Regions from separate parts of the Homo sapiens genome. Here regions 1, 2, 4 and 5 are each linked to region 3. Evidence: promoter capture Hi-C in 16 types of primary human blood cells and fetal thymus (Javierre and others, 2016). All regions are on one chromosome and are shown on one strand. The core of a region is centred on a gene start or on the middle of the fragment in contact, and the rest is flanking DNA. Distances in the headings are between cores, read along the strand shown. Region 1 overlaps LRBA (LPS responsive beige-like anchor protein). Region 2 overlaps LRBA (LPS responsive beige-like anchor protein). Region 3 holds the start of MAB21L2 (mab-21 like 2). Region 4 overlaps LRBA (LPS responsive beige-like anchor protein). Region 5 overlaps LRBA (LPS responsive beige-like anchor protein).

Evidence for each region. The method cuts DNA at HindIII sites, captures the fragments that hold promoters and counts their contacts. A CHiCAGO score of 5 or more calls a contact.
Region 1: a fragment that was not itself captured here is called in contact with the fragment with the promoter of MAB21L2 in region 3 in 1 of 17 cell types (megakaryocytes); the score reaches 5.2 in megakaryocytes.
Region 2: a fragment that was not itself captured here is called in contact with the fragment with the promoter of MAB21L2 in region 3 in 1 of 17 cell types (endothelial precursors); the score reaches 5.7 in endothelial precursors.
Region 4: a contact is called between a fragment that was not itself captured here and the fragment with the promoter of MAB21L2 in region 3, in 2 of 17 cell types (megakaryocytes and M1 macrophages). The highest score is 9.9, in megakaryocytes.
Region 5: a contact is called between a fragment that was not itself captured here and the fragment with the promoter of MAB21L2 in region 3, in 2 of 17 cell types (megakaryocytes and endothelial precursors). The highest score is 6.1, in megakaryocytes.

Annotation. Positions count from the first base shown.
Region 1 is chr4:150,923,221-150,929,070 of GRCh38, reverse strand. LRBA (LPS responsive beige-like anchor protein) reads left to right here. Exons shown (of 57, transcript NM_001364905.1): 3 at 6-237; 4 at 455-555. Among named protein-coding and RNA genes, the nearest start is that of LRBA, 89 kb to the left of the region's middle. The HindIII fragment of the contact is 4,640 bases long and covers 519-5,158 here.
Region 2 is chr4:150,901,359-150,906,852 of GRCh38, reverse strand. LRBA (LPS responsive beige-like anchor protein) reads left to right here. Exons shown (of 57, transcript NM_001364905.1): 12 at 448-556; 13 at 863-1,015. Among named protein-coding and RNA genes, the nearest start is that of LRBA, 110 kb to the left of the region's middle. The HindIII fragment of the contact is 1,918 bases long and covers 2,745-4,662 here.
Region 3 is chr4:150,579,302-150,585,326 of GRCh38, reverse strand. MAB21L2 (mab-21 like 2) reads right to left here and starts at 3,176. Exons shown (of 1, transcript NM_006439.5): 1 at 634-3,176. The coding sequence starts at 2,297. The coding sequence ends at 1,218. All of the region lies in intron 40 of LRBA (LPS responsive beige-like anchor protein), which reads left to right. It overlaps LRBA-AS1 (LRBA antisense RNA 1), which reads right to left. Exons shown (of 2, transcript NR_149035.1): 1 at 5,972-6,025; 2 at 4,093-5,723. The HindIII fragment of the contact is 6,793 bases long and covers 541-6,025 here.
Region 4 is chr4:150,274,727-150,280,300 of GRCh38, reverse strand. LRBA (LPS responsive beige-like anchor protein) reads left to right here. Exons shown (of 57, transcript NM_001364905.1): 56 at 2,297-2,448. Among named protein-coding and RNA genes, the nearest start is that of DCLK2, 200 kb to the right of the region's middle. The HindIII fragment of the contact is 2,493 bases long and covers 360-2,852 here.
Region 5 is chr4:150,841,939-150,847,820 of GRCh38, reverse strand. It overlaps LRBA (LPS responsive beige-like anchor protein), which reads left to right. Exons shown (of 57, transcript NM_001364905.1): 27 at 3,042-3,163; 28 at 3,614-3,721. Among named protein-coding and RNA genes, the nearest start is that of LRBA, 170 kb to the left of the region's middle. The HindIII fragment of the contact is 1,567 bases long and covers 2,500-4,066 here.

The sequences.
Region 1 (5,850 bases), core at 1,589-4,088, 340 kb before region 3:
GTAAGTTGGTAGGAGGACAGTTTGATCTGGAAATGAATTTCATTATCCAAGAAGGTGAGAGTATTAACTGCATGGTGGACCTACTGGAAAAATGTGACATTACGTGCCAAGCAGAAGTCTGGAGCATGTTTACAGCCATTCTGAAGAAAAGCATACGGAATCTTCAAGTCTGCACTGAAGTAGGCCTTGTTGAAAAAGTGCTTGGGAAAATTGAAAAAGTTGACAATATGATAGCAGGTATGATTTTTTCTATAGTACAATATATGCAAAGAAATAAAGTTTGATTTTCAAATACATATTTTTCTTATTCCATTTAGCAATATTTAAGAAATATTTGAGCATGTAGCATGCACCTAGAACTTTAGTGTCCAAGCCCTTAAATAAGCACAGTTTATTTTAAATATTCGAGAAATATAACTAGCTGAGTTATTTTATCGTTTTCTTTTGTTTCCAGATCTTTTGGTTGACATGTTGGGAGTGCTGGCTAGCTATAATTTGACAGTTCGCGAGCTAAAGCTTTTCTTCAGTAAACTTCAAGGAGATAAAGGACGATGGGTAAAAAAACTTAAGTACTCTTTGGTATTTTAAAGTATGCTCCTCCCAAACACATTCGTAGCTTGTAAAGTAACTGATATTATTATACATGGGATAATTGTCAAATTGAATAGATTAATTAAAATAGCATTGAGATCCCTGTGGCTACTCGTGCCATACTTGGACACTAAGAGTATGCACTAAGATAATGGTGTTTCAGGCAAACTGGTAATTTAATTCTTCTTCAAAATGTTGTTCTTTAAATGTACATTCAATATTTATTAGAAAAAAAGATAAATGTAGAGAAAGAAAAGTATTAGGTAGTAGTACCTACCTTTTCTTCTTTTTGATCTAGTTTTATCTGAGTGGCTTAAACTTGAGTAACTCACTCCGTGAACAAAACCTCTGCAGTTAATTGGATCTACCCTCTTGAGATGCAACTTAGGAGTCATTTGCAATGGGTAGTGATGGGGGTGAACTTATTTTGAACCCCAGGTGCCTTATCAAACTGTTTCTTCCACCATATAGTTATCTGTCCCATTGAAGAGGAGTAGTAAATATTTTCTCCATTTTTGTTGCATTTCCAATCTTATTTTAGTGCCCTTTAGAGATCATTGCCCACAGCAACAGCTCAGCCAGCTGATCCTTAATCTAGCTTTCATTAAATGTATCTAAAACTGTGCCCTACAATTACTCTTTTTCATTATGTTAAAATTTAGATTCTTTAGCATATTTCTCTCAAACTCCAGTTTACTGTCTAATTTTAGTTTTTTTTACTAATTTTCATTGAATTTGATTATATTTCTGGTTCTAGCTTACCTTGTGTTTATCTTCTTAGAGTTTTTGCTTCTGTGGGGGTATAAGATAATTGTCACAAAATTTGGAAACATTTTAGTCATTGTTTCTTCAAATACTGTCTTCTTGTCCCCGCTTCCTGTCTTTTCTGGGACTCCAATTACAGATATATTAGACCTCTTGATATTTTCTCACAGGTTACTGGGATCTGTTAACTCTTTTTTTAATCTTTTTGTGCTTTATTTTAGATAGTTTTTATTGCTGTAGTCTCAAGTTAACTGATCTTTTCTTCAGCAGTGTGTTAATTCCATCCACTGAAATTTCAGATAGTATATTTTTCTTTCTGTAAATTTTTTTTTTTTTTTTTTTAAGGCAGAGTCTCGCTCTGTTGCCCAGCCTGGAGTGCAGTGCCATGATCTCGGCTCACTGCAAGCTCTGCCTCCCGGGTTCATGCCATCCTCCTGCCTCAGCCTCCCAAGTAGCTGGGACTACAGGCGTATGCCACCAAGTGCGGCTAATTTTTGTATTTTTAGTAGAGACGGGGTTTTGCCATGTTAGCCAGGATGGTCTCGATCTCCTAACCTTGTGATCTGCCCGCCTTGGCCTCCCAGAGTGCTGAGATTACAGGTGTGAGCCACCGCGCCTGGCCTTTTTTTTTTTTTTCTTTCTTTTGAGACGGAGTCTTGCTCTGTCGCCAGGCTAACGTCCAGTGGTGCGATCTCTGCTCACTGCAACCTCCACCTCCTGGGTTCAAGCAATTCTCCTACCTCAGCCTCCTGAGTTGCTGGGATTACAGGCGCACACCACCACGCCTGGCTAACTTTTCTATTTTTAGTAGAGACAGGGTTTCACAGTGTTGGTCAGGATGGTCTCGAACTCCTGACCTTGTGATCCACCCGTCTTGGCCTCCCAAAGTGCTGGGATTACAGGCATAAGCCACCATGCCTGGTCTCTTTCTGTAAATTCTATTTGGTTCTTTTAAATATTTTCCATTTTTTCCCTCATTTAATTCCTTTAAATCCTTGACAATATTTAGCATATGAATAGTTGCTTTAATGCTCTTGGTTTTTCATTCTAGAATGTCATTTTCTAGGTCAGTTTTTTACTCATTGATTTTGCTCCTTTATGTAGGTCACATTTTTCTGCTGCTTATGGCTACTGAATTTAGACAATATATCAGACATAGCAAATTTTATGTTGCTGAGTGTTGGATTTTGTCATATTCCTTTTAAGATTGTTAGACTGGTTTTGTAGGCAGATAAGTTATTTGTGGATCAACTTTATCCTTCAAAACTAGTTTAAAAGTTTTTTTTCCAGTAAGGTTTAGAGTGGCTGTTACGCTACGGCTAGTTTAGTTTTACTATTCAGGCGTGTCTCTTAGAGGGTCTCTATTGAATAACTCTCAAGTCTCAGACATAGGACAGGAGGTAGCAAGACTGTGGTCTCTCCGAAGTGTCTAGTAGGGTCTCAACAATTCCTAGCTCTGTATTAGTTTTGGGAATTCTTTAACTTAAAGCTCTTACTATCTTAGCCCCACCATGTTGAGTTTTATCATAAGCATGATCAGTCTGGTATTAAGTCAAAGAGTCAATGCAGATTTCTGGAGCTTCTTGTCTGTTCAGTTCTTTCCTCCCTAGTATTCTTCTCTGAAACTTCTATCTTCTGTGGACTCCACTTTCTTTCCAACTCACTGAGACTTTCGGGTTCTGTTTGGTTTCCCTGTGCAATGATATGGAAATTGACTCCAGGTTTAAGTCATTTTGTTTTCTCAGGGAACACAGTCTTGAGCTACCTCTTCCTGCATACTGAAAACTGTTTTTGTTTGATACATTTTGCCCACTTTTCTAGTTGTTTATGGTAGGTTGGTAAGTCCAGGTCCTATTAATATGTCGTGTCCAGAAGAGAAAGTATATATTTGATTTTGGTTTTTATTTATATTCACATTATTTATTCTGAATATGTAATGTATTTTTATTATATTCATAAGCATAGAAAATTATAGGTAAGAAAATAGCAAATAATATGAACTAATATTTATTTACAGAGGTAGAAACCCCACAACCAAATGAACACAAAATCATTAATAATTAGAGACATTCACATTAAAACAGTATTGATATTGTCACCTTCCATCTGTAGTTTCTCAAGAATTTTAAAGTTGGAAAATGGCAAGTATAGTTTGGGATATAGGGTTATTTTATACTTGGTGCGCTTTTCATTAGAATGAACACCAGTGGAGCCAACCTCAAGAGGAGTCTAGTGCTACTTAGTCATGTTAATTTTACCTGTATCCAGTGATTTAATAATTCACTTCTGAGTGCGTATTCCAAGAAATTCTCACATAGATCCATAAAATACATGAGGATGTTCACTGAAGCATTATTTTTGATGGCAGTGAATGTTAACATGGATGTTCATCATTAAGAGAGTGGATTGGTAAAATGTATAGAAGGTAGATTGTTCTATAACAGAATCAGTACATGGAGTAATAGGAATAGATGTAAAATATATAGGAAAGAAAGCAATGATAAGTGTAAGCACATAAAAACCTTTTTTTCTTTTCTTTTTTTTTTTTTTAAAGACAGGGTCTCACTCTCATCCAGGCTGGAGTGCAATGGTGTGATCATGGCTCACTGCATTCTCAGCTTCCTGGTATCAAGAGATCCACCTCAGCCTCCCAAGTAGCTGGGACCACGGACATGTGCCACCATGCCAGGCTAATTTTTGCATTTCTTTTAGAGGCTGGGTTTTGCCATGTTGTCCAAGCTGGTGTCAAACTCCTGAGCTCAAGCAGTCCTCCCAGAGTGCTAGGATTACAGGCATGAGCCACCACACTCAGCCCCAAACATTATTTTTGAAGGAATAATCTACATAAAAAAGATTAAACATGTTAATATAGTTGCCTATGGGGAGGGGGAGGAGAATGAGAATAGTTTTAGATGATAAAGGGAAAAAATAATGAACTATTTATAAAATGAGAGCAAGGCCTTGCTCAGATACTCATTACGTTTATTTAGTTATTTAATATTAGGCATATTATTTCTATCGTTTGCTGTTATAGCAGTGCAGTGAAAAAATCCCTATATCTAAATCTCTGTCTGCCCTTGTGGTGATTACTTTAGCATAGATTTTTACATGTGGAAATATTGCATTGGTGGACATGAACGTCTTTACGGACTCTTGAAATATGACTACTACATCTTTTTCTTTTCCTCTTTCTTTTTCTTTTTCAGACAGAGTCTTGCTCTGTTACCCAGGTTGGAGTACAGTGGTGCTATCTCGGCTGCCTGCAACCTCTGCCTCCTGGGTCAAGCAATCCTCCCACCTCAGCTTTCCAAGCAGCTGGGACCACAGGCACTTGCCACCATTCTTGGCTAATTTTTGTATTGTTTTCTAGAGATGGAGTTTCTCCATGTTGCCCAGGCTGGTCTCAAACCCCTAGGCTCAAGCGATCCCTCCACCTTGGCCTCCTAAAGTGTTGAGATTACAGATGTGAACCACTGTGCCTGGTCTACTAAATTTTTTTCTGAAAGGCTTTACCAGTACAGTATACACTCCCCCAGCAATGTCTGTCAAGTAAAGTGCTTATCTTAATGTATTCTTTTGTTGACTGATTTATAGGAAAGGAAATTTGGAGGAATGATGTTTCTAGATGGACATGCTATAATACTGTATTTTTATTTTTAACTGCAGAGTTATTTTTGGTTACTTTATTTTACTTTGGAATTTATTTTAAAAAATCACTGTGATTGTAGTTACTTGTTATTATGCTTTTACAATTGAGCAGTATGGTTAATTGAAAATTTCTTGTTCACTTAAGAATGAAGCTTCCACTTAATATTTAGGTGAAAGGTTGCCAAACTCTTTTACACAGGTAGTAATTATAATTTATATCATCTATAAAAATAAGATGAAGGCAAACCAATGATTTCATTTGTAGTTTGACCCTGTTTTGAACTTTTACATTTTTAACAAGGAGGAATGCCCCACACTTTTCTTATTTGGTTATAAACTGATTAAAATGAGATAGTATGTCTGATTATCTTTTGTTTTTCCTTGTAACTGCAAATGAGATTTTTCATTTTTATTGTTGGTTGTTTCATGTATTAGAGACTTGTGGACCAAGGAAACATTAATCAAATAAACTCAGCGTTGCAGCTTTTATATGTATATGCTATGCGTATACATATATTTATATGCTATGCGGTAAAGGTATATTGTAGAATGAAATATGATAGGGAAGTTTAATCCACTCTCAGTTTCAAGGAAGGCTACCCTGAGGAAGTGACTGTTAAGATGAGCTCTAAAGGCTGGGTAAGATTGACTTGGATAAGAGGGGAGTACAGGGGTCCTTTTGAGAACATTTTAAGCATAAGGAATAGCTTTTGCTGAGGCCCTGTTGTGGGAAGAAGACTGAAAAAAGGATGGAGTGCAGGGAGAAGGGGAGAGTAAGAAGCAAAATGAGGCTAAAGAAGTAGATAAAGTATCTTATAGTCCATGTTAAAGGTTTTGGTCCCTATT
Region 2 (5,494 bases), core at 2,454-4,953, 320 kb before region 3:
ACATTTTGAGGATTTACACCTTACTCTGTTTGCTCCACTGTCTTTTCTCACCTTTTGGCCCCTAACGCTTCAAAGTTGAATATACTTGCTTATCTAAGTTATATCTGTTCTTTAAGGCCTTAGTGTATTTTTAATAAGTATTTGTTATTGGTTGTTTTTGGAAGTTGCTCATTTTTCTCTATATCATGAACATTTGTCATTGTTTCTAAGTAATTCACCTATCAATGTGTTTGAGATAAAGTATATGAAATAAATATCTGAGTAACTCCTAATCCTACATTAAAAATCTAGTTCTGATGTAATGTTGGAAGCAGTTTTAGTGGAGCTTCAATTTCTTTGAAATGGAGAACTTTTTATTAAGGTGAATGGAAGGGTTACATCTATCTAACCTAATTTAAAAAAAATAGAATATGTTTTTTTAATCATCGCCTTTTTAAAAAATTCTAGTTCAACCTTGCTGGCCTTTATCATGGAATTGTTGAAGAACTCAATTGCTATGCAGGAACAGATGCTTGCCTGTAAGGGCTTCTTGGTAATAGGATATAGCCTTGAAAAGGTAAAGTATGAAATATTTTATGTTTTTGATTCTTAATTTACAGGCCATACATTTGTTCTCTAAGTGGCTAAGGAATTCTGTCTGCAAGAATGTCTCCTTGGTTACAGAAAATTACCTAAACTAAAATAACATTTTGTTGTTTTACCTTGCCTCCATTCCTCTATCAAACAAATGTGATAGTGAGCTTCATGGCATCTTTAACTTTGAGCATAATTTGTGGGCCAGTTTTTTTCCTGGTAGGGACAGCCTGTAATTCACTTACTTTGACTTGAATTTGTGGTAACATTTGAACTACTTTTTTTGCAGTCTTCCAAATCTCATGTTAGCAGAGCAGTACTTGAACTTTGCCTTGCATTTTCAAAATATCTGAGTAATCTGCAGAATGGGATGCCCCTGCTCAAGCAATTGTGTGATCACGTTCTTCTTAATCCTGCCATATGGATTCATACCCCAGCCAAGGTAATATATATCTATATATTGATATTGTTTTACTATCTTTGCTGTTTTTGTGCGTGAGGAGAGTGATAATTAAGAGGATTTTCTTTTTTTTATGTACTATTATGCAAGACTTCAGTGGATTGCTTTTTTTGACTAAGCATCCTTTTTTACTCTTCAGGAAAAATTGCAAATTGTGTGTGTGTGTGTATGAATATATACAAATAATATATACATACATACAAAGAATATATTCTTTGTAAACAATATCATTATTTTAAAAGATACAGGTATAGTCTTTGTTTTCTGAAATTAAATGAAATAAAGTTTTATTTGGGAGAGACTTCATTTACTAAATATAAATCAAAGTTAGACAGTTTTAATGTAATTATTAATGTTTCCTAGTAACTGTAGCTTTGTTCCATTGTAAATATCCATATATATTTTTTCTTTTTTTTTTATTTCTTAAGAACTCACCCTGCTCCTGCTCTCTCTCTTTTTTACTTCACACTTTTGCCTTCCAACATGATGAACTACTGAGTTTCATTCTTATAGGTACCACTGAAATGTCACTTTTTCTTTGAAGGCATGATATACTAGTCTCGTAATCATTTTAATTTCACGTTAATTCAAATTATGAAAACATTTGTACAAATTTTTTTTTTCAGTTTTGTAACAACAAACCAATTAGTTCTATGTGAATGTAAATGAATTTGTGGTAAGGTATATGAACAAAATCTTTAATAAATCCTAGTGTTGTAATACATTGTCCTAAAAATTCAGTAGTGGCAGTATTAAGCATAACTTGAAACAGATCATTTTATTAAATTGCATAATTGTATCCGTCTTATCTACAATTTTTGTTAGAAGTCGTGTTATTTCAAGCCCAGTTTTCCTCTCTCCCCTTCTGCCTTTTGGCCCACTTGCAGTGTTTATCATTGTTTAAGTTGGAATAGCACCTACTTATTCTAGTTGTCAGAAAAAAGTCTGCAGACTTTTTTGCTTTTCTAGAGTCTTAATATTTTATTTTCAGCTGGTCTTTTCAAATGTTAAAGAGAAAAACAGCTGCTGACTCTGATTGCCATTTGGAAATAATCGAAACAGGCAGTTGGAGGTTGTAGCTTTTTATCTCCAGGTCAAATTTGACCTCATTTTCTTCCATGACCCTCAGTCTTACTTCTTTTTGAGGATTGTTTCAAGTTACTTTTAAAATCTTTTACTAGATACTTTTTTGTCTTACTAATCAGCATATTTGTAAGGCTTTGTGTCTCTTTTGATGTGGTCAGAAAGCCTCTTATTAGATACTTAGTTGGAGGGGAATTAAAAAAAATTCATCTTATGATTTTCTTAGTTTCCTAGTATTATTATACTCTATTTCTTATCTTCTACTTTTTAATAACTTTTCTCAATTTCCTTTTTAGAATTTGCAGTTGAGTTGATAATATTAGCATTTTCTCCTGTTTTAGCCATCTGCTTTATGTATCCACAAGGGGTTTTATCTGCTTTTATTTTATTGTAAAGACAGTCATAAAAAAGGGCAGATCCAAATTTTGTTTGACTTGAAGGTCAAATGTTTATCATGTGGGAAATTTTTTAAGAAGAAGAATACAATATAATGCATACAAAATTAGGTTTAGGGTCTTGGAAGAAACATTTATAGATCAGTGGTCATAAAGTTGAAGCTTTATCAGCTTCGTGGTCAATCCACCTCTGGTTAAAAGTTGAAGGTCTGGATGTGTGGATGTGAAAAGCTTTGCTTTTGGAAAAGGGAGCTACCAGCGATTTATAATTTCCATTTATCTTAGATCTGTTCAGAGAACATCTTTTTAATGACCTAGCAGGAGAGATGAATTTTCTTGTCTACCATGGTCCTTCATTTACTCAACAAATATTTGTTGAGTGACTACTTTATGGTGGGCACTGTGGATATGGTGATGAACAAGATAGACTTGATACTTGCCCTCATAGAATTTAGATTTAGTGGGAAAGACAGATGTTAACACACAATTTGTGTGGCTATTGGAGTACATAATGAGTGAATGAGGGAAGGTTTATTCATAATTAGCATATGAGTAATCTTGAGGTCTTTCATTCATCTCTATACGTTGCTACTAAATTCTGTTTACTTATTTTTTTGACGCAGGGTCTCACTGTGTCACTAAGGTGGGATCTCAGCTCACTGTAACTTCTGCCTCCCCAGCTCAGGTGATCCTCCCATCTCAGCCTCCTGAGTAGTTGGGACTGTAGCTGTGTACCACCACACACAGCTAATTTTTGTATTTTTTTGTAGAGATGATGTTTTGCCATGTTGCCCAGGCTGGTCTCGAACTCCTGGGCTCAAGTGATCTACCTGCCTCAGCCCCCCAAGAGTGCTGGGATCACAGGTGTGAGCCATCAGGCCCAGCCTCTGTTCATTTTTCTTTTACCACAGTATCATTCTCAATAGACTGACTTTCTCCAGTTTTCCATTTCTTTGTCTAACTTATAACTATTCTGCCAGAATTCCAACATGTTCTTTTCATGGCCATGGCTCAGTGCGACCTTAAACTCCTGGGCTCAATCAGTCCTCCTGCCTCAGCCTCCTGAGTAGCTGATACTGCAGGTGTGCGCCACCATTCCCAGCTAACTCTTTAAATTTTTTTGTAGAGACTAGGGTCTTGCTTTGTTGTTTAGGCTGGTCTCGAACTTCCGGCCTCAAGCAATCCTCCTCTCTCAGCCCCAGAAAGTGTTGGGATTACAGTCTTGAGCTACCATGCCCAACGCCAATATTTTCCTAACATATGACTCTTATAATTTCTTAGCCCCAGCAGTTTTAATGGTTTCCCATTGTTCTCAGAACGAAGTAGTTAGTCCTTTATCTAAGGATTTCATGTCAATTCTTATTTCTAGATTTTCTAGCTTAAAAATGGAAATATCCTCAGTGGATAGGGAGGTACCAAAAGGTTTCCCTACAGTGGTGGTTCTCAGTCTTGACTGCTGATAGAATCAGTTGGGGTAGGTTTTTAAAAACAAGCAAAAATAGAATCCCACCACTTCCACTGCAGATTCTGATTTCATCAATCTGGTGTTATCCGTGGAGAGTGTCCAGGTTCTTGGTGTCTTGAACAAAGGATTGGACAAAATGCACAAAGCAAGGGAAGAATGAAGGAACAAAAGCAGAAGTTTATTGAAAATGAAAGTACACTCCACACTGTGGGAGCAGGCCTGAGCGTAGGGGCTCAAGAGCCCTGTTACAGAATTTTCTGGGGTTTAAATAACCTTTAGAGGTTTCCATTGGTTGCTTGGTGTATGCCCTATGTAAATGAAGAGGATACAGTAAAGTTACAAAGTCATTTACTCGGTGTATGCCCTATGTAAATGGAGAGGATATTTCCTGTCATAGCTGTAGCATTTCCATTTGATTTAGTTCTAGGAAGTCCTTAGGTTCGCTGCCTCCAGACCCTATTCTCCTGCCTCACTGGGATGGGACTCAGGCATCAGTATTAAAAAAAAAGAAAAGTTTTTCAGTTATTTTAATGTGCAGTCAAGATTGAGAACTGTTGTTCTAACTCTAGGGAAACCTTTATTTCAACCATCATTTTTCTAGCTTGAAATTTCCTCTTGTATTCTGTCTGTCTATTCTACTACTCATCTTCAAAGCCTATCTTAATGCCTACTTTATTAGTGAAGCTTTTCTTTACTATTTCAGTTTATCCTATAATAATTTATCTGTCCTCTGAATTAATAATATTTCATAGCTCTATGTCACTCAATTACATATTGCTTCATGACTTTTTTCATGTTTTGGTAGGCATATTTATTGTCTTTGATTTGTTTTGCTTAAATATAAGTGTTTTTTTAATCTTTTCAACTGTATTTCAGCTACTTAGGGACAGCATATGTGCCACTGTATTTCCATGATACAGTGTTATGCATATAGTTAGATGTAAATATTTGCTAAGAGACTGAAATAACATGGTTAAGAATTTGAGGCATGTCGTATTGTCTCAATGACAAGTGGATTGGGCCTATCAATTTGAACAGCAGTAGCTACATCAAAATAACATTTTGCGGCAGGTCAGTAGATCACAATGTATTGTATGTGTATAGATACATATATGGTTTTGTGAATTATAATGATCTTCCAAGCCCTGCTTTTAAGTGGTTCAGAACCTGCCACTTTTTAGCATGTTAGATTTATTCACTGACACTCTAATTCATTTAGCCTTGATTGTTTATTTGCAGGGCACCTGGAAGATAGGTACCTACTTTTTGCTCTCTAAAGAAATCCCTAGGTGACACTGAGGTACCTTGCAGGTTTGAAAAGGAAAATGCCCTCATTGTCCAGGAAGGTAACATAAAGGTTCAGTTATAAATGATCAGTAGTTTGGTCTATGGTCAAGGGAAGAATATATATCCTATACTTACAGTTGTTCAGCTTATAAAATATACCCTCTAGCAATAAAATGAATTGATTTCAACATGAGAGTAGAGCAAAAGCAGTCGTTATTTTTGCTGCTTTAA
Region 3 (6,025 bases), core at 1,927-4,426:
ATCATACTTATGGAATTTACAACTAAGCCATTTTAAAATGGAAGTAATTTATAAATCTGAATGGTTCATATCACCATATGCTTGGGGAGAGGATTATTGCTATAACCATTGTATTTTTTGTTGTGGTTTATTTAATTGTTAAATTTTTATCACTCAAAGCTTGAAGAGGACAAACGGTTGAAGGAAAAGTATCAACTGACTTTGTTAACTATTCAGAAAAATCCATAAATATTTCCTTTGTATATCGGATTCAGATTGGATTTTTTGAAATTATGGCATAAGAAAGCACATCTCTTAATTTTTAATGTGAAAAAGTTTTTTCTATTTTAAAAATTAGGATCAAAATATTTTCTTTCATACTTTTTTCCCAAGCGTGAAGTAGATGTTACTTTTAATCTTAACATCTACAGAACAAATATATATTATAGTTGAGTAAAATTAGTGTTTTCTATTTTCTAAGGATTTGGGTCGGAACTTATACAGTCAATTCTACAAAATGTACTGTATTTAAAATTTTGCAAATCAGTTCAAGTGGAAGCTTCTTGCATTTGATTCCTCGTCACATCTTTACATTGGAAATTATAAACTGTGATCTCACCTGCCTTCACTTAAGAACAATCCACAAACAGTCAATTACAATGTAAAGTAATGTTTTTATTACTGTTTTCAACAAGACAGCTCAGGGTGAGGGTAGAGGTTCAGGAGAGGGAGGAGCACAGTCTGACATTGGCACTGAGAACGTTTAACATCAGTAAAACTTTTTTTTAAAAGAGAAATTTTACATATAGTTAAATAATTTTTTCACTTGGTGACAACATTCAGGCAACCAAAAGCAAAACGAAATGGGGGGGGGGATGGGGTGGAGAGAAAAAGGATAGGGGGAAAGAAGGAAAAGGGGGGGGAACTACTATACATTGATTTGAAAATGTACCTTGGGTTTCATTTTGTGGTGGCGGAGCCCGATTGCTTCTTTTGTGTGACCTTTTAAATTCACATTGTTTGGAAGAAAACGATCACTTTTGTGCAAGAATGTGATTTGTTTTGGTTGGGTTGCTCTCTTTTTGTTTGCTTCTTAATTAATGAAGGTCTTCTGCCGGATTCCTATTTCAGGTGACTTACATAAAAGTTTGTGTCCAGAGTTTCTGCTGTTTATAGCAGAGTTGTGTGTCTGAGAGAGCACGCCCGTTTGTGTCGCTTTTCAAGCAGTCCCCAGCACCCTATAGTTTGTCCAGGCTTTTGGGATTGGTGAGAATTTCCCTGGCCAACCTCCAGGTCTGCTTGGCAGCGCTCTCCAGGGCCGAATGGGGCTTGCCCTGAAAGAGGTCGAGGTTGGGCAGAAAGTAGTGAGGGCAGCGGCGGCACTGCAGGCAGGAGATGAGCTGCAGCAGGATGCCGTTGAGCCGGTCGCCCAGGCACGACTCGTCCCAGTCCGTTTCTCGTGGGTGTTTCTCGCACTCGTACAGCAGCAGCGTCTTCATGTGGTAGTTGTTGAGCGGCTGGCCGGGTAGCTCCAGGTGGCGGTCCCGCAGAGTCTTCAGCACTGAGAGGCACTTGTTTCGGCAGCCGCCCATCAGCAGGCGGTTCTCCGCCTCCCCGAACTGTAGCACCCAGGCGTCGCTCTCTGCCGAGCTCTGCTTGCCGGTCAGCGAGTAGCACTCCTTCGAGAGCAAGTTGAACCCTTCGGCCTTGACCTCGGCCACCCGATTGGGGCCGGGCCAAGGGATGTGGGGCATAGGCCACTGTGCCGCGCTGCGAGGCCAGATCCCGGTGCACTTGAACGCCGGAGTGATTTGCACCACATAGCGCTCCCTGATGCGCAACTTGACCTCGCTGGTGTCCGCGATCATCTTGACCACATCCCGATAGCTGCACTTGTCCACCGCCTGGGCCACCAGCGTCTGGAAACGCGAGCGGATCTTACGCGCTGAGAGATAGCCCGACGCCGTGATGAACTCGACCCAGAGAGACATGCTCCGCTTCCGCCCATCGCTCAGTTTGAGCACTGCGCAGCCGGGCAGCGAGCCGTCGTCCACGAAGTTGAAGACGCCCATCTGGTTTAGGTAGAGCACCACCTCAAATTCGGTGGGCGAAATGACCTCGAGCCCCTCGTAGCGGGCATCGATCTCGCTCAAGGAGCTGATGAAGCGAGGCTCCTGCACCTCCACTTCCTTGAGCACGTCCGAGACCACCTTACAGACCTCTCGGATGGTTTTGGCGATGGCCGCCTTGCGCGCCTGACAGCGCTCAGTGTAGTACTTATTGAGCTGGTAAACCAGCTTGGCCTGAGCGGCGATCATGTTGGGGCACAGGTCCGGGCTATACACCGGCGTCTCGCAATACGTTGAGGGATCCAAGGCTCACGCACTGGTGGTGGCCCAGCGGCTTTCGAAAGAGGCGGTGCGCTCCCCGTTAAGCCCTACTTTCACTCTCGTTTTCCACCTGGGCTGACCGGCTGATACCGTAGCCGGCTTGTTTTTTCCTTTTCCCTCTTTCGAAACCTCTTTTCTTCTGCAGAAGAATTAGGGGAGAAAAGGTGATTTTCTAAAAAGAAAAGTACCTCTTGGAACCTTTTTGCTTTCTCTTGATATGTAAAGATGACCGTGTGCGAGAGAAGCGGGGTGGGCGTGAGGAAGGAGAAGGAGAGGGAAAAAACTCAGGATACCAAAAGGTTAGGCTTAGATGTCTGCAGCCGAGATTGTCCAGAAATCTGGAAATGAGGTTTTTTAAGTGCCAAAGTAAATTTAAAAATAAAAGCGAAACATTCAGTGGTTCATTCTTAAACTTCTCTTCCACGCTGATAGGACTTCTTCGCTCAGTGTAGGTGAGTGCCTTCTTCCTCACCCTCCCCCAAATGGAAGGTGCAGGAGGTAATTAATGTCCAGAGAGCTGCGAAGTACAACTCAGTCCGCCGTGCACTTGGAGGTTTGCTGACGCCCCACAGTCTCAGCGTGTTGGTCTCGTCTCTTCTCGGGGGGTCGTGTTATCGCAGTTTTCCTCTTTTCCTACTGGAGGCGTTGTTTGGACTGGGTTTGTTTGTTTGTAGTGGGTTCTCCTTGTGTTTCTTTAGGTGCAAACCGCTGGAAGTTGTTTGATAATCATTTCTGCTTCGTAATTTATACTTTTGGCCCTCACAAAATCCGTTTTAGTGTGACGAAGTCGTTGCTTGCGTTGCATCTGGGGTGTAGTTATAACGATTCAGGGTTTTCCTTCTTCTCCTCTAGCTTGCTTTTACAGATTCCACTTTCTGAGTCGTCTCTCCCCCTCCTCTCCCCTCCGACCTCTTTCTCGCCCCGCTCTCCCCCTGCTTCTCTCCCCCGCCCCCCTTCCTCGTGCTCGCTCTCTCTTCTTTCCTCTAACTCTCTCTGTCTCTCTCTCTCCCTCTCTCTTTCTTTCTCTCTCTCCCTCGCTGTTTCCTGGAGTTATTTAGTTTATGAATGGTCCCAGGGCCATCATGAGGGGGTGGAGCTTCAGTTCCTACAATCGCTATCCGAGCTGTCAGTGCTTTAGCCAATCCGAGAGAGAAGACAGGCACGCTTGGCGAACGGTAGCAGCCACCACTGCACTTGATAAAGAAACAGGGTAAAGAGAGAAGTAAGAAAATAGGAGGAGATAATGGGAGTCAAATGCTTGCACACATTTTACAGCCGTTCCTCTTTATCCTCCTCTCTTATCAGTAGCAAAGAAGAAAAAGAGTTTATATAGAAGGGACTCTCCTGGAGATGGCTGGAATAACGCGAGGGAGAGTAGCAATGGTTCAGAAAGGTTCACTTTTTTTTTTTTTAAATGATTCTATCAACATTGTGTAGTAGAAGGTGCAAACTGTAACAAAATTACTTTGGCTTGAAGGCAAATGGGAAGCGAAAGGGGAATCTGGGAAAGGACCTAATTTTTCCAGGTTTTTTCCTCCTTTAAAGTCATCCTCCTTTCTCTTCCCCTCCCCTCCCATTGTTGCCAAGAATCAGAGCAGTTGCTGTATATGTGCACCAGTGAGGGTTGGAGTGGATATAAGGTGAGGGTTTATAAATCTCTTTTTAGTAATTTCGATATGCTGTTTAAAAACAGGGCAGGGCAAAAACTAGTCCAAGCACCTTGTTTGATAATTATTTCATAATTAAGATTCACATGTATTTAATACCATTATTTTATCGTTACAAGAATTAACTAGTTACGAGAGAGAAAATATCTAAGTTGTGAGAAATGGTGCAAACTTACATGTCGTAGAACTTAGTAGGATATACTTTTAAAATAAGCTACTAAAATTGCTTCAAACTTAATGAAAAACAAGGCAAGTAAATGTAAACCTAAAGTTTTCTTAAAATCTTACTGTTGTAAATCTAATTGTGAATGTATTCTTAGGGGGTACAGGTACAGAGTTTCATTTGTAAAATGATTTTATTTTCATAATTGACTCTTGCTTTTAAAAGACTTCACTGCCACAAAAATCTATAACTATCCTGTTATTGATTACACAGATGGCTTCACTCCTCCCTAGGCATTTCAATGAAAGGCATGCATGTGCTTTTAGTATATGTATTATCCTAAACGAGTTGTACCCACTGTAGCCTTTCCATACTTTTGGGTGAAAAAAAAAGCTAGAACATTGTTTCTGATTTGCTTGATACTGAGGGTTTATGTATGAACCTAAGATGTCTGGATTCTGAATCTTTTTAACGTATTTCAGGTAGATGTGATTATTTTTAGTTTGATTTGGGAGGTTATATTCCAGCCCTGGGTTATGCGATAAAAATAAAAATCTATGCGTCCATTTGGGTGAAGACTTCGTTTTAGAAACCTGGTAGTTCGGCTTTTTCAAAACCCCTTGGGAGGGCTTGACTTACCCTCTTAAAGTCCGGCCGGGTGAACCTGAATTGAATTGCATAGGGAAGTTAATTTCTTTCTATCTACTTGGTATCAGACAATTGGGCCTCTTGGTTCTTTCTTACATACCTGGTGCGGACCACAGGCAGTTTGTCACCCTTCCTCTCTCGTTGCCATAAGTCCCTTTCTAAGGAATATTTGCTTAAAAAAAAACTATCTCGGATTTGTTGCTTAGGGTTTGTCTTCCCGCGATTAGGAAGAAGAGTCAGAATTAAGTGTCCGCGCGACTCTTGGACTCCAGAGCTTTAGTTAACTTCTCTGGAGTGGCAGAGACTTGGGCTGCTTGACCTCCAGCCTTCTCCGGGGAGGCCGCGTGCGTCCCGGAACGCCTCGCCGCCTAAGGATCTAGGGGACCTCGCGCCCTCGGAGTTCGCGCCTGTGGGAGCCCGGCTCTAACCCGGGAGGCCTTGCCGGCGCTCTGGGAACTGCCTGGGCCGGAGGGCACTGCGCTGCCGGGAGAGCGCGACTGGCCGGGAGGGGCTCCGTGGTTGCTTCTCCGGGGGCAGTTACTGGGCGGAGACTGGTGGCGGGGATAGAGGGTGCGGAGCTTTCCCGCCCCACTCTCGAGGTGGTCGCTTCGTCGTTGCGTCTGGTTCGCGAATGGCCCGGCCCGCGACGCTCCCGAGAGTGAGTGTTTGCAAACAGCCTCAGGGGTGGCGGAGTTGGTTCGCATGGCTCCGCCGCCGCGCCGCAAGTCCTGCGCCTTCTCCTCTTCTCTCGGGTGGGGCGTCCCAGGCCGAGCGGACCTTCGCGCCACCACTCGCCGGACACTCCGCTGCACCTCCACTGGCGGCTCTGTCAAGCTCGGCTAAGTTTTCTCGCATCCTTGCCCCTACGCTTCTCCACTTTTACATACAGAGGGAAGGATGATAAAACGTTACAAATGTTTTGATTTAAAAACAATTCATTACCAATTTACCCTGTCTTAGGTAGATGCTCTAGTAAATAATAAATCAGTTAAACAAAGGCGACTTTAATTTATGGCCGTGGTACTAATTAGAAACATCATTCGAGCAATAAACTTAAACACTTCCAGCAAATAATGCTCCCTCTTGCTGGTTCTCTTTCTCCCCCCTCCCCCACCCCAACTCACTCTGGCTGCCTCTGCTCTAAGAGCAGCTTCAGCTGCGCCTTTGCGGTCCTCTCT
Region 4 (5,574 bases), core at 357-2,856, 300 kb after region 3:
CAGGGGATGAGATTAACATGTGTCTGGGGCCCTCTGAAAACCTCTAGTCACAACCCAACCTGGATGCGGAGGCGGCCTGTCAGAATTTGAGTGGGAGATCAGGTGCTGCTTGCTAAATGTTACCCTGGCTCTTGCCGCCAGAGGAATTTGGCCTCTCCTGAAAGAGGCCAGCGAAATCTTTTTTCACCTTGGGAGGCATCTGATTCATTAAAATGTTTTGAATGCTGATGACTGTATAGTCCCTAAAGCCCAGGTTTTACTTAATTTCAGATGGAAGCAGGATTAGAGATTCTTTACTAGAACAAAGAATTAAAGATCAGTGGTTTTGTTTTAGTATAACACTTATCCAGTAAAAAGCTTCAAGTATCAAATTCAAATGAACTACAACCATAAGGTTAATGGATTTTCATCAGCTGAATTTTATAAGTGTAGCAAATAATTGTTTGTCCTAGTCTCCACTGCAGTTCCCAGACACCCCTAGAGATTGCCATTTGTGAAATGAGTGGGGGAAAAGGATACTGATTTTTGCTCATCTTGAAAATATCTTAATATCTGTGTTAACAAAACTTAGAGAATATGTAACTAACTGTCTTCCACACATGGGTTTTTATTTCCTAGATGTGTTTTTGTGTTCTTGAGAATAAGCTGTATTTAAGGGACTACTAAAAGTTGGCATTTGGGTGAATGTGAAATAAATGGCTAAGAAAGTCTTTGCCTTTCTATGATTTTTTAAAAGATATGTCAAACAGTGAAGACTTAAGGCAGCTATGCTAGAACTGAATGTAGAACAGTGTCAATGTATCAGAAATTAGGTTTTTTTCTTTCTGGCTTGCCAGCACAATCTGTATTCCCCTGTGTCCAGGTGGACATGCGATTACAGGTGTTTGTAGTGGCTTTAAAACTCTGATGCCATCCACTAAAGAAAGGAAATTTGTATCTTAATAAGCTAAGAAAGCAAGGCTTGGAGGTACCAGGCAGGAGGAGAGGAAGGGGTAATAGGATTGGCTTTTGGAGGAGGGAGGGACAATTAGGAGTAATCACACTTTTTCTATAAATGGACAGAAAGTAAATATTTTCAGCTTTGAGGGTTCTGCATTCTCTGCTGCAACTACCTGTGAAAGCAGTCATAAACAAATAATAGGTGTGGCGATGTTCTGGTAAAACCTTATTTATGGAAGGCCAGGCGCAGTGGTTCTCGCCTGTAATCCCAGCACTTTGGGAGTCCGAGCGGGTGGATCACTTGAGGTCAGGAGTTCAAGACCAGCCTGACCAACATGGTGAAACCCCGTCTCTACTAAAAATACAAAAGTTAGACGGGTGTTGTGGTGGGCACCTGTAATCCCAACTGCTCAGGAGGTTGAGGTATGAGAATCACTTGAACCTGAGAGGTGGAGATTGTAGTGAGCTGAGACTGCGCCACTGCACTCCAGCCTGGGTGACAGAGCAAGACCCTGTCTCGAGGGGGGAAAAAAAAAAACCTGTTTATGGGGATTCAAATTTGGAATTCATATAAATATTCATGTGTCATGAAAAATTCAAGCATTAAAAAATGTTAAACAATTATATGAAACAGGCAGTGGGCTGCACTTGGCCCGCAGGCTTTCATTCATGGATGCCCATTTTACAGGATCAAAGAGCAAATTCTGAGCCTGTACTGTCTGTTCAGCGCTAGTAGGAAAGGACAGAGGGGCACAGCCTAGAGCTGACTAAACCACAGGCTGGAGCACTGTCAGCCCTGGAGCAAGAAAATGCTGAACTGAGATTTAATCACCCTGGAAGTTGTTGTAGCTCTCTACAAAGTCTTCTTCCCAACTGCTGTCAAAATCCAGCAGGCTCAGGGAAGGTGCCGAGGCTGCTGGCCGCCTCCCTCCAGCTGGAGTTGCAGGGGATTAGAGGGGATGTAAGGTCAGGTGGCACCATCTGCCAAGTCTTGGGACAAAACAGGCTTATTAGCATGTCTGCAGTGCAAATGAAGAGATGCCAGGGCTTCTCATTAGAGCACTGGTCCCAGTCCACAACACACACCATTCCAGTAGCATTTGTAGAACTGGAAGAGTTTGCTACCTAGTATTTAAAAAAGCAAAGCCAAAACAATCTCAAGCATTGATGAACTTTGTCCATTTGGTTTTTGAAAAATGGCAGATCTTCTACAACTCACGATTTTCTAAAAACTCCTGAGGATCTCTCTCTCTTCTCTCTGCACCGTAGTAGCTGGTGTAAGAATGACTCAAAAACAGGGTGGGGGCCGAAAGTTTCCTAGAACCACATTTCTACTGAATGTTGCTGTGTCTCACAGGCCATCCAGCTGAGCCGAGATGGGCAGTACCTGCTCACAGGAGGAGACAGAGGAGTGGTCGTGGTCCGGCAGGTGTCGGACCTCAAGCAGCTCTTTGCCTATCCAGGATGTGACGCTGGAATCCGGGCCATGGCGCTGTCTTACGACCAGAGGTAACACTGGAATCATGGGCTACAAATAGGGGTTTCAAAAACTGCAGAGGGGACTGGTCGTGTTGGCTTACACCTGTAATCCCAGTACTTTGGGAGGCTGAGGCAGGAGAATCACTTGAGCCCAGGAGTTCGAAGCCAGCCTGGGCAACATTGCAAGACCCTGTCTCTACAGAAAAAAAAAATTTTTTTTTCAAAATTGTATAGTAAAACCTGCAGAGGGAATTTATTTAAATGGGCTGATGGAGTTGAGTTGTGGGGGTCACCTGTACAATCAAACCAAGAACACTTTTTTAAAAAGTGTGATTTTCTTTCTGATGACATTGCCACTCTTGGACAAAGGCTGAGTTCTCAAGGAATAGACAGAATTTAAGTAGCAAAGGCTCTGATTACAGTGATGCAAAGCTTTTTATATTTCTTTGAAGTATCTTTTTTTAAATTATACCTTAAGTTCTGGGGTACATGTGCAGAACGCAGTTTGTTACATAGGTATACATGTGCCATGGTGGTCTGCTGCACCCATCAACCCATCATCTACATTAGGTATTTCTCCTAATGCTATCCCTCCCCTAGGCCCCCACCCCCACAACAGGCCCCCGTATGTGATGTTCCTCTGTGTCCATATGTTCTCTTTGTTCAACTCCCACTTATGAGTGAGAAGATGAGGTATTTGCTTTTCTGTTCCTGTGTTAGTTTGCTGAGAATGACAGTTTCCAGCTTCATCCATGTCCCTGCAAAGGACATGAACTCATTCTTTTGTATGGCTGCATAGTATTCCATGGCGTATATGTGCCACATTTTCTTTATCCAGTCTATCATTGATGGGCATTTGGGTTGGTTCCAAGTCTTTGCTATTGTGAATAGTGCCGCAATAAACATAGATGTGCATGTGTCTTTATACTAGAATGATTTATAATCCTTTGGGTATATACCCAGTAATGAGATTGTGGGTCAAATGGTATTTCTGGTTCTATATCCTTGAGGAATTGCCACACTGTCTTCTACAATGGTTGAACTAATTTACACTCCCACCAACGATGTAAAAGCATTTCTGTTTCTCCACATCCTCTCCAGCATCTGTTGTTTCCTAACTTTTTAATGATTGCCATTCTGAAGGGTGTGAGATGGTGTCTCATTGTGGTTTTGATTTGCATTTCTCTAATGACCAGTGATAAAGAGCTTTTATTCATATGTTTGTTGGCTGCGTAAATGTCTTCTTTTGAGAAGTGTCTGTTCATATCTTTTGCCCACTTTTTGATGGGGTTGTTTTTTTCTTGTAAATTTGTTTAAGTTCTTTGTAGATTCTGGATATTAGCCCTTTGTCAGTTGGATAGATTGCAAAAATTTTCTCCAATTCTGTAGCCTACCTGTTCACTCTGATGATAGTTTCTTTTGCTGTGCAGAAGCTCTTTAATTAGATCCCATTTGTCAATTTTGGCTTTTGTTGCCATTGCTTTTGGTGTTTTAGTCATGAAGTCTTTGCCCATGCCTATGTCCTGAATGGTATTGCCTAGGTTTCCTTCTAGGGTTTTTATGGTTTTAGGCCTTACGTTTAAGTCTTTCATCCATCTTGAGTTAATTTTTGTATAAGGTGTAAGGAAGGGGTCCAGTTTCAGTTTTCTGCATATGGCTAGCCAGTTTTCCCAACACCATTTACTAATTAGGGAATCCTTTCCCCATTGCTTGTTTGTGTCAGGTTTGTCAAAGATCAGATGGTTGTAGATGCATGGTGTTATTTCTGAGGCCTCTGTTCTGTTCCATTGGTCTATATATCTGTTTTGGTACCAGTACCATGCTGTTTTGGTTACTGTAGCCTTGTAGTATAGTTTGAAGTCAGGTAGTATGGTGCCTCCAGCTTTGTTCTTTTTGCTTAGGATTGTCTTGGCTATACAGGCTCTTTTTTGGTTCCATATGAAATTTAAAGTAGTTTTTTCTAATTCTGTGAAGAAAGTCAATGGTAGCTTGATGGGGATAGCATTGAATTGACTCTATAAATTACTTTGGGCAGTATGACCATTTTCACAATATTGATTCTTCCTATCCATGAGCATGGAATGTTTTTCCACTTATTTGTGTCCTCTCTTATTTCCTTGAGCAGTGGTTTGTAGTTCTCCTTGAAGAGGTCCTTCACATCCCTTGTAAGTTAGATTCCTAGGTATTTAATTGTCTTTGTAGCAATTGTGAATGGGAGTTCACTCATGATTTGGCTGTTTGTCTGTTATTGGTGTATAGGAATGCTTGTGATTTTTGCACATTGATTTTGTATCCTGAGACTTTGCTGAAGTTGCCTATCAGCTTAAGGAGATTTTGGGCTGAGATGCTGGGGTTTTCTAAATATACAATCATGTCATCTGCAAACAGGGATAATTTGACTTCCTCTTTTCCTATCTGAATACCCTTTCTTTCTTTCTCTTGCCTGATTGCCCTGGCCAGAACTTCCAATACTATGTTGAATAGGAGTGGTGAGAGAGGGTATATCCTTGTCTTGTGCCAGTTTTCAAAGGGAATGCTTCAGTTTTTGCCCATTCAGTATGATATTGGCTGTGGGTTTGTCATAAATAGCTCTTATTATTTTGAGATACATTCCATCAGTACCTAGTTTATTGAGAGTTTTTAGGATGAAGGGGTGGTGAATTTTGTTGAAGGCCTTTTCTGCATCTATTGAGATAATCATGTGGTTTTTGTCATTGATTCTGTTTATGTGATGGATTACTTTTATTGATTTGTGTATGTTGAACCAGCCTTGCATCCTAGGGATGAAGCCCACTTGATCATGGTGGATAAGCTTTTTGATGTGCTCCTGGATTTGGTTTGCCAGTATTTTATTGAGGATTTTCGCATTGATGTTCATTAGGCATATTGGCCTGAAATTTTCTTTCTTTCTTGTGTCTCTGCCAGGTTTTGGTATCAGGATGATGCTGGCCTCATAAAATGAGTTAGGATTCCCTCTTTTTCTATTGATTGGAATAGTTTCAGAAGGAATGGTACCAGCTCCTTTTTGTACCTCTGGTAGAAATTGGCTGTGAATCTGTCTGGTCCTGGACTTTTTTTGGTTGGTAGGCTATTGATTTCAGAACTTGTTATTGGTCTATTCAGGGATTTGACTTCTTCCTGGTTTAGACTTTGGAG
Region 5 (5,882 bases), core at 2,034-4,533, 260 kb before region 3:
TTCTTCCCTAAGTAAAAGTAAAAATACATGAAATGACTTTTTAATGTTAACTGGACTTCTTAGGTGAAGCAAAAAACAAAACAAAAAAACCCTTTTTTGCATAATTTTCCTTCTATATAGTTGTAAATATCGAGACTTTGTTAAATGATTTGATTATTAAGTGAAGAGAAGGTGGTGAGGAGAGAAGGCACAAGAAATGGAAGCAAACCATTAGGAGCCATGGTCATATGAAGAGATAAAGCACCTATGAAAACATAACATGGAAGTGGAAAATGTAGTTAATGACATATTTTTTCATATTTAGCAAGAATGTCTGTTACATAAACTAATGTATACCTGTGCTTTTTGCCACAAGTATAATTTTTACTCAAAATGCTATTCAAAGTATTTAATAGTATTAGTTTAAATGTAAAATTCCAAGTATTTTATATTTAATAATCAATGGTATATCTTGCTATTCTAAGTAACTTGGAATAACAATTTATAGACAGTTGTTTTAAAATTTAAGAGACATTCTAATTGTAAGCATAACAAAATAAAAGTTATCATTTATTGACTATTGTCATTTGTCATTGTTGATTTTCACGGTGACAATTTTGTTCTTTTTATTCATGAGGAAATTGAAGATAAAAGAAATTGGGAAACTTATCTATAGCTAAAAAGCTATAATTGGTGAAGGTAGAATTTGAATACTATACTTTTGTCTAACTAGTGCTCCTACTCTTTCTATTGTAGTATACTTCTTTAATCTATTAGTATTATAATTAAAATATTTAGACTTTATTGCTTTATGTGTGCCATTTTCGAAGGCTTTTCACTTTCCTAGAAAGAGTACATTTCTAGAAGTAAAAGTGCAAGGCTATACTAGCAAAGCCTTACTCAAGAATCATCAGATTCAGAGGCTAGGGAAATACTCTATGTTCCTAGTTTTTCATAGCCACGGAAAAGAATTAAGAGATAATTTAATCCACCCCAGTACCATCTGTTCTTATATATGGAAATGGGACTTAAAAAATGACTTGTCCAAGATCATTTAATAGAGTATGGTAAACAAAGTAACAGTCCAAATGTGTGATATCTTTTTTTTAAATTGTATTTGTGTAAATTTATGGGGTACAAGTGCAATTTTGTTACATACATGGATTGCTTAGTGGTGAAGTTAGAGCTTTTAGGGTATTCATCACATGAATAACACACATTGTACCATTAAATAATTTCTCATCATCAGACCCCCCTCACCCCCTCATCCTTCTGAGTTCTGAGTCTCCATTTTCTTTCTTTTTTTTTTTTTGGAGATGGAGCCTTACTCTGTCGCCAGGCTGGAGTGCAGTGGCAAGATCTGGGCTCACTGCAACCTCTTTCTTCCGGGTTCAAGCAATTGCCCTATCTCAGCCTCCTGAGTAGCTGGGACTACAGGTGTGCCCCACCACACCCGGCTAATTCTTTGCATTTTTAGTAGAGACGGGGTTTCACCATGTTGACCAGCATGGTCTCGATCTCCTGACCTTGTGATCCCCCCGCCTCGGCCTCCCAAAGTGCTGGGATTACAGATGTGAGCCCCCACCGCTGGCCTGAGTCTCCATTTTCAATCATTACGCACTCTACTTCCATGTGTACACACTATTTAGCTCCCACTTATAAGTGAGAACATACAATATTTGTCTCTCTGTGTCTGACTTGTTTCACTTAAGATAATGATCTCCAGTTCCATCTATATTGCTGCAAAAGACATGATTTCTTTCTTTTTTACGGCTGAATATTATTTCATTGCGTATATGTACCACAGTTTCTTTATCTAGTTATCTGTTGATGGACACTGGTGTCCTCATTCTTGTTTCCTGAGGTTGGAGTTAGAAGTTAGGATGACAGCAGTAAGAGTAACTGATTGAAACCAGGAAATGAGGTGTGATTTTTAACTTTGTAATACAGACTCAAATTTGATTTTATGCAACTTGTGAAAAAGTTTGTATGAAAAGTATTTCCTGGGTCTGATAGCAAATTTGATAAAGTAAAATATTTCTTGGGTCTGATAGCAAATTTGACAAAGCTGTATTCCATATTCTCTCTTCCCTCCTCTTGTTCCCTCCTTCCTTTCTTTCAACTTTTATTGCTCTCTTTGGGCACCTTTCAGAACACTTTCTTTCTAAATTCTCATGCCTGCTAGCCATGTGATAGGCCAGTGATTCTTTGTGAAGTCCCCCCTTAAGTTTGCTATTTTGTTCCTAATTTGCTCTCCCTCCTTTGCTCAGTTCAAGTACCTTGAGTGCTACAGATTTGGAGGGAATTTAGATGATTACATGGTATCAAGCAATTCATAGTGAAGGGTACATAATGTAATTCATCATTTAAAATCCAAAATTAATTTCTAAGTAATCTAACTGCCTGATTCGTGGGAGCCTTAGGTAATTTTAGACTGTATATTAATCAAATTCCCTTTCCTGTCTCCCATTTTCTAAGCAGTTTTAATGAAAGCTAGTAAATGCTGGACCCTATAAAGCTTCTTTCAAAAGCTATATCCTCTATTAGTCTCAATTAATATCATGCTGTAATGATGCAATATAAGAAGAACATCAAAGTTTCCAGTTTAACTAATTTACTTTAATGATGGTAATAGAAGATTGTTACCTCGACTAGTTCATGGTAATGTACTTTGTTCCCTGTTTTCTTCCATTTCTTTCAATTCTTTTCTTCCCTATCCTTTTCTTAACTAAAGATTGTCCCAGCTAGCTTAGTTGAGATCTAAGAAATAGTAGCCTATTGTTAAGATTCCTGAACTGATTTCCTTTCAGCAAACCCTAAACGTTTAGACCACTAGGCCATACTGCCTCCCTAAATCTTAACTGGGCCACAGCATGGAAGCTAACAATATCAGACAACCAACACTAGGCGATAAAGTCTAGGGACATTTTAGGAATAAGCTGAATGTCGTCTGTTTTGAATAAAATCTTATGTAAATCATATTGTGTAGTTGATGTTTTTCACTTCCATAATCTTAAATATTAACTTTTCTTTCCCTATCTTTTCCTTAAAATAAATTACAGTTTGTGCAGTCGCAGTAAGGAATTGCTTGGAGTGTCAACAGCATTCACAACTGAAAACTAGGGGAGATAAAGCCTTGAAACCAATGCATAGCCTTATTCCTTTAGGGAAATCTGCAGCGAAGGTAAGTATACAGATTAATTAATTTTCAAAAAGCATACTCCTATTTTACAATTAAGATTTTTATTTGTTCATTTCAACATAAAGTTAAATAAATCTGGCAGAGATTAAAATAGTTACTTTAGGCCTGCATATAACATTCAAATATTTGTGTTTAAATACACAATAAAGATTTGTTTATATTTAAACCTCTCTGCTTTTCCCAGTGTTTACTTTGATTGTTTCTGTGATGCCTTTTCCTTCAAATATGTCATTTTTTCCTGCATGCCATCTTTCTCCACCTCTCTCCCCAACCCCTCAAAGAAGAAGGAAGCATACACACAAAAAAAGTGGGGAAAGGAATGCTATAGCTTTGCTTTTCTGGTTCTGGGAATACTGTGTTTATTTTTAAAGAATATCTGTGTAATGTATATATGAATATATATATATACAATTTTTTTTTAATCTTAAATAGAGCCCAGTGGACATTGTGACTGGCGGTATATCTCCAGTAAGAGATCTTGACAGGCTTCTACAGGACATGGATATTAATCGGCTTAGGGCAGTTGTTTTCAGAGACATAGTAAGTTACAATATGTCTTTCACATACTCTCTTAACTGATGCATATTTCCTCTTAGGCCTAATGTATTGAGATTAAAAATTCTTTGTGATATCAAATAGTGGAGCAGAGATAGAAAGGTCTAGAAACGACTTCTTTTGACAATGATTTTAGAAACAGAATATTAGAAAAGATAGTTTATATAAAGCGAGCTAGCAGATCAGCATAGTGATATTAAAAGGAATAATGCATTATTACATAGTAAGCAGTCTAAGTGATATACATGTATTAATTAAGTCCAACAACTTATTGAGCTGTACTATTGTAATTTCCATTTTATAGATGAATAATCTAAGGCACATAAAGCTTGAGTAACATCTCCAAGCTAGTGTTGATAAACAATGATAAAATCAGGATTCAAACCCAGCAGTCTTAATTCTAAAATTGATGCTCTGAATGTAATAAAATGTTCAACTTCTGAATGGCATATTATTTTACTGAATATTGGATATTTTTTCCTCAAAGGTACACTAATGTGATAAAAAGGTGCATGATGAAATGTTGCTCTCAGTTTGGTGTTTCTAATTTTTTAAAGTTGAAAAACAGTTTTGTTTCAGCTGATTTTGATAGAAAACATTGCTAATTCTTATGTAGACAATTTAAAGTCATATAGAAAGTATAAAGATGAAAGTAAAAATAATTTATAATTGCACTCATCAGCATTTGGAATATTATCATTAGTAAATATTTGTTGAACACTTACTGTATGTTTTACATATATATTTCTTACAAACTTTCTAACCTCAATTTTTCTTTTTCCCCTCCCTTTTTTTCAATAGTTTTATTCTCTTTAGTTCTTGACTAGGTTTTTATGCATATGTAGAATTTGGAGTATTATCACTACTTAATAGTATTGAATACTTACTGTGTATTAAACATGATACTGGATGCTCTTATCAGGGGTCCCCAACCCCCAGACCACTGACCTGCACTTAGGCTGCACAGCAGGAGGTGAGGTGAGCAAAGGGTGAGGAGTGAAGCCAAGCTCCGCCTCCTGGTCAGATGGGCAGGAGCATTAGACTCTCATAGGAGCACGAACCCTATTGTGAACTGTGCATGCGATGGATCTTGGTTGTGCGCTCCTTATGAAAATCTAATTATAAATGTAATGCACTTGAATCATCCTGAAACCATGCCCCCTACCCCCACCCCGCCTCTTACCCCCTACAGGTCCATTGAAAAATTGTCTTCTATGAAACTAGTCCCTTGTGCCAAAAAGGTTGGGGACCAATGCTGTATATGTGTGTTTAATTCTCACAATAATTCTATGAGGGAGTTAGCAATATTTAAGTAATGTGCTTAAGATTATACAATTAGTAAGAGGTGAAAGTGAGTTTAGGACTTAGGGAATCTGATTCTTGAAATTTTGATCTTAACTAAAAGGCTATACTACCTTCTTAGATCATAGTTCTCTAGTAGCTGTTATTATTCCTTTAATTAAGAAGCCATCAACTTTTTTTCTCCCTGGAATCCTTTGAATGTGGTCAGTTTGAGGACCAAATGTTGCTGTTTTCTCCTCTGTTCACTTTTTTTCCATTGGGCAGGTTCTGAGTCTATTGTCCATAACTTTATATTTCCTAGAATGATCCTTAAAAATCTAGAATAGAATTAGCCACATGTGGTAGCACACGCCTCTAGTCCTAGCTACTTGGGAGGCTGAGGTGGGGAGGATCGCTTGAGCCTAGGAGGTCAAGGTTACCGTGAGCTATGATTGTGTCACTACAGCCTGTGTGACACAGCAAGACCCTGTCTCATAAACAAACAAATAAACTAGAATAGATGATGTTACTCTTTTTCTTTCAGAATTCTCTAATATCATCTTTTAGTGGTTAAATGGAATCCAAACTCTTCACAGTGCCTCTGGATGATCTGGCTCTTGAAGAACCTTCTAACCAGTTATTATATTACAATATTCTGCAAACAATTAGAATATCTCCTTTACTATATGATTACTGAAAGTCATAAATAATTTTAAGTGTTTTGTAATTATAAAAGTTATATAATCACCTTATAGGAGTTTTAGAAAAAAGAAAACACTATATTTTACATGCTAGAGTTTAGTCTCTTTAGGGAACAAAAGGAACCTATGATGAAAAAGGAAATCACTGGGTGGGTGCGGTGGCT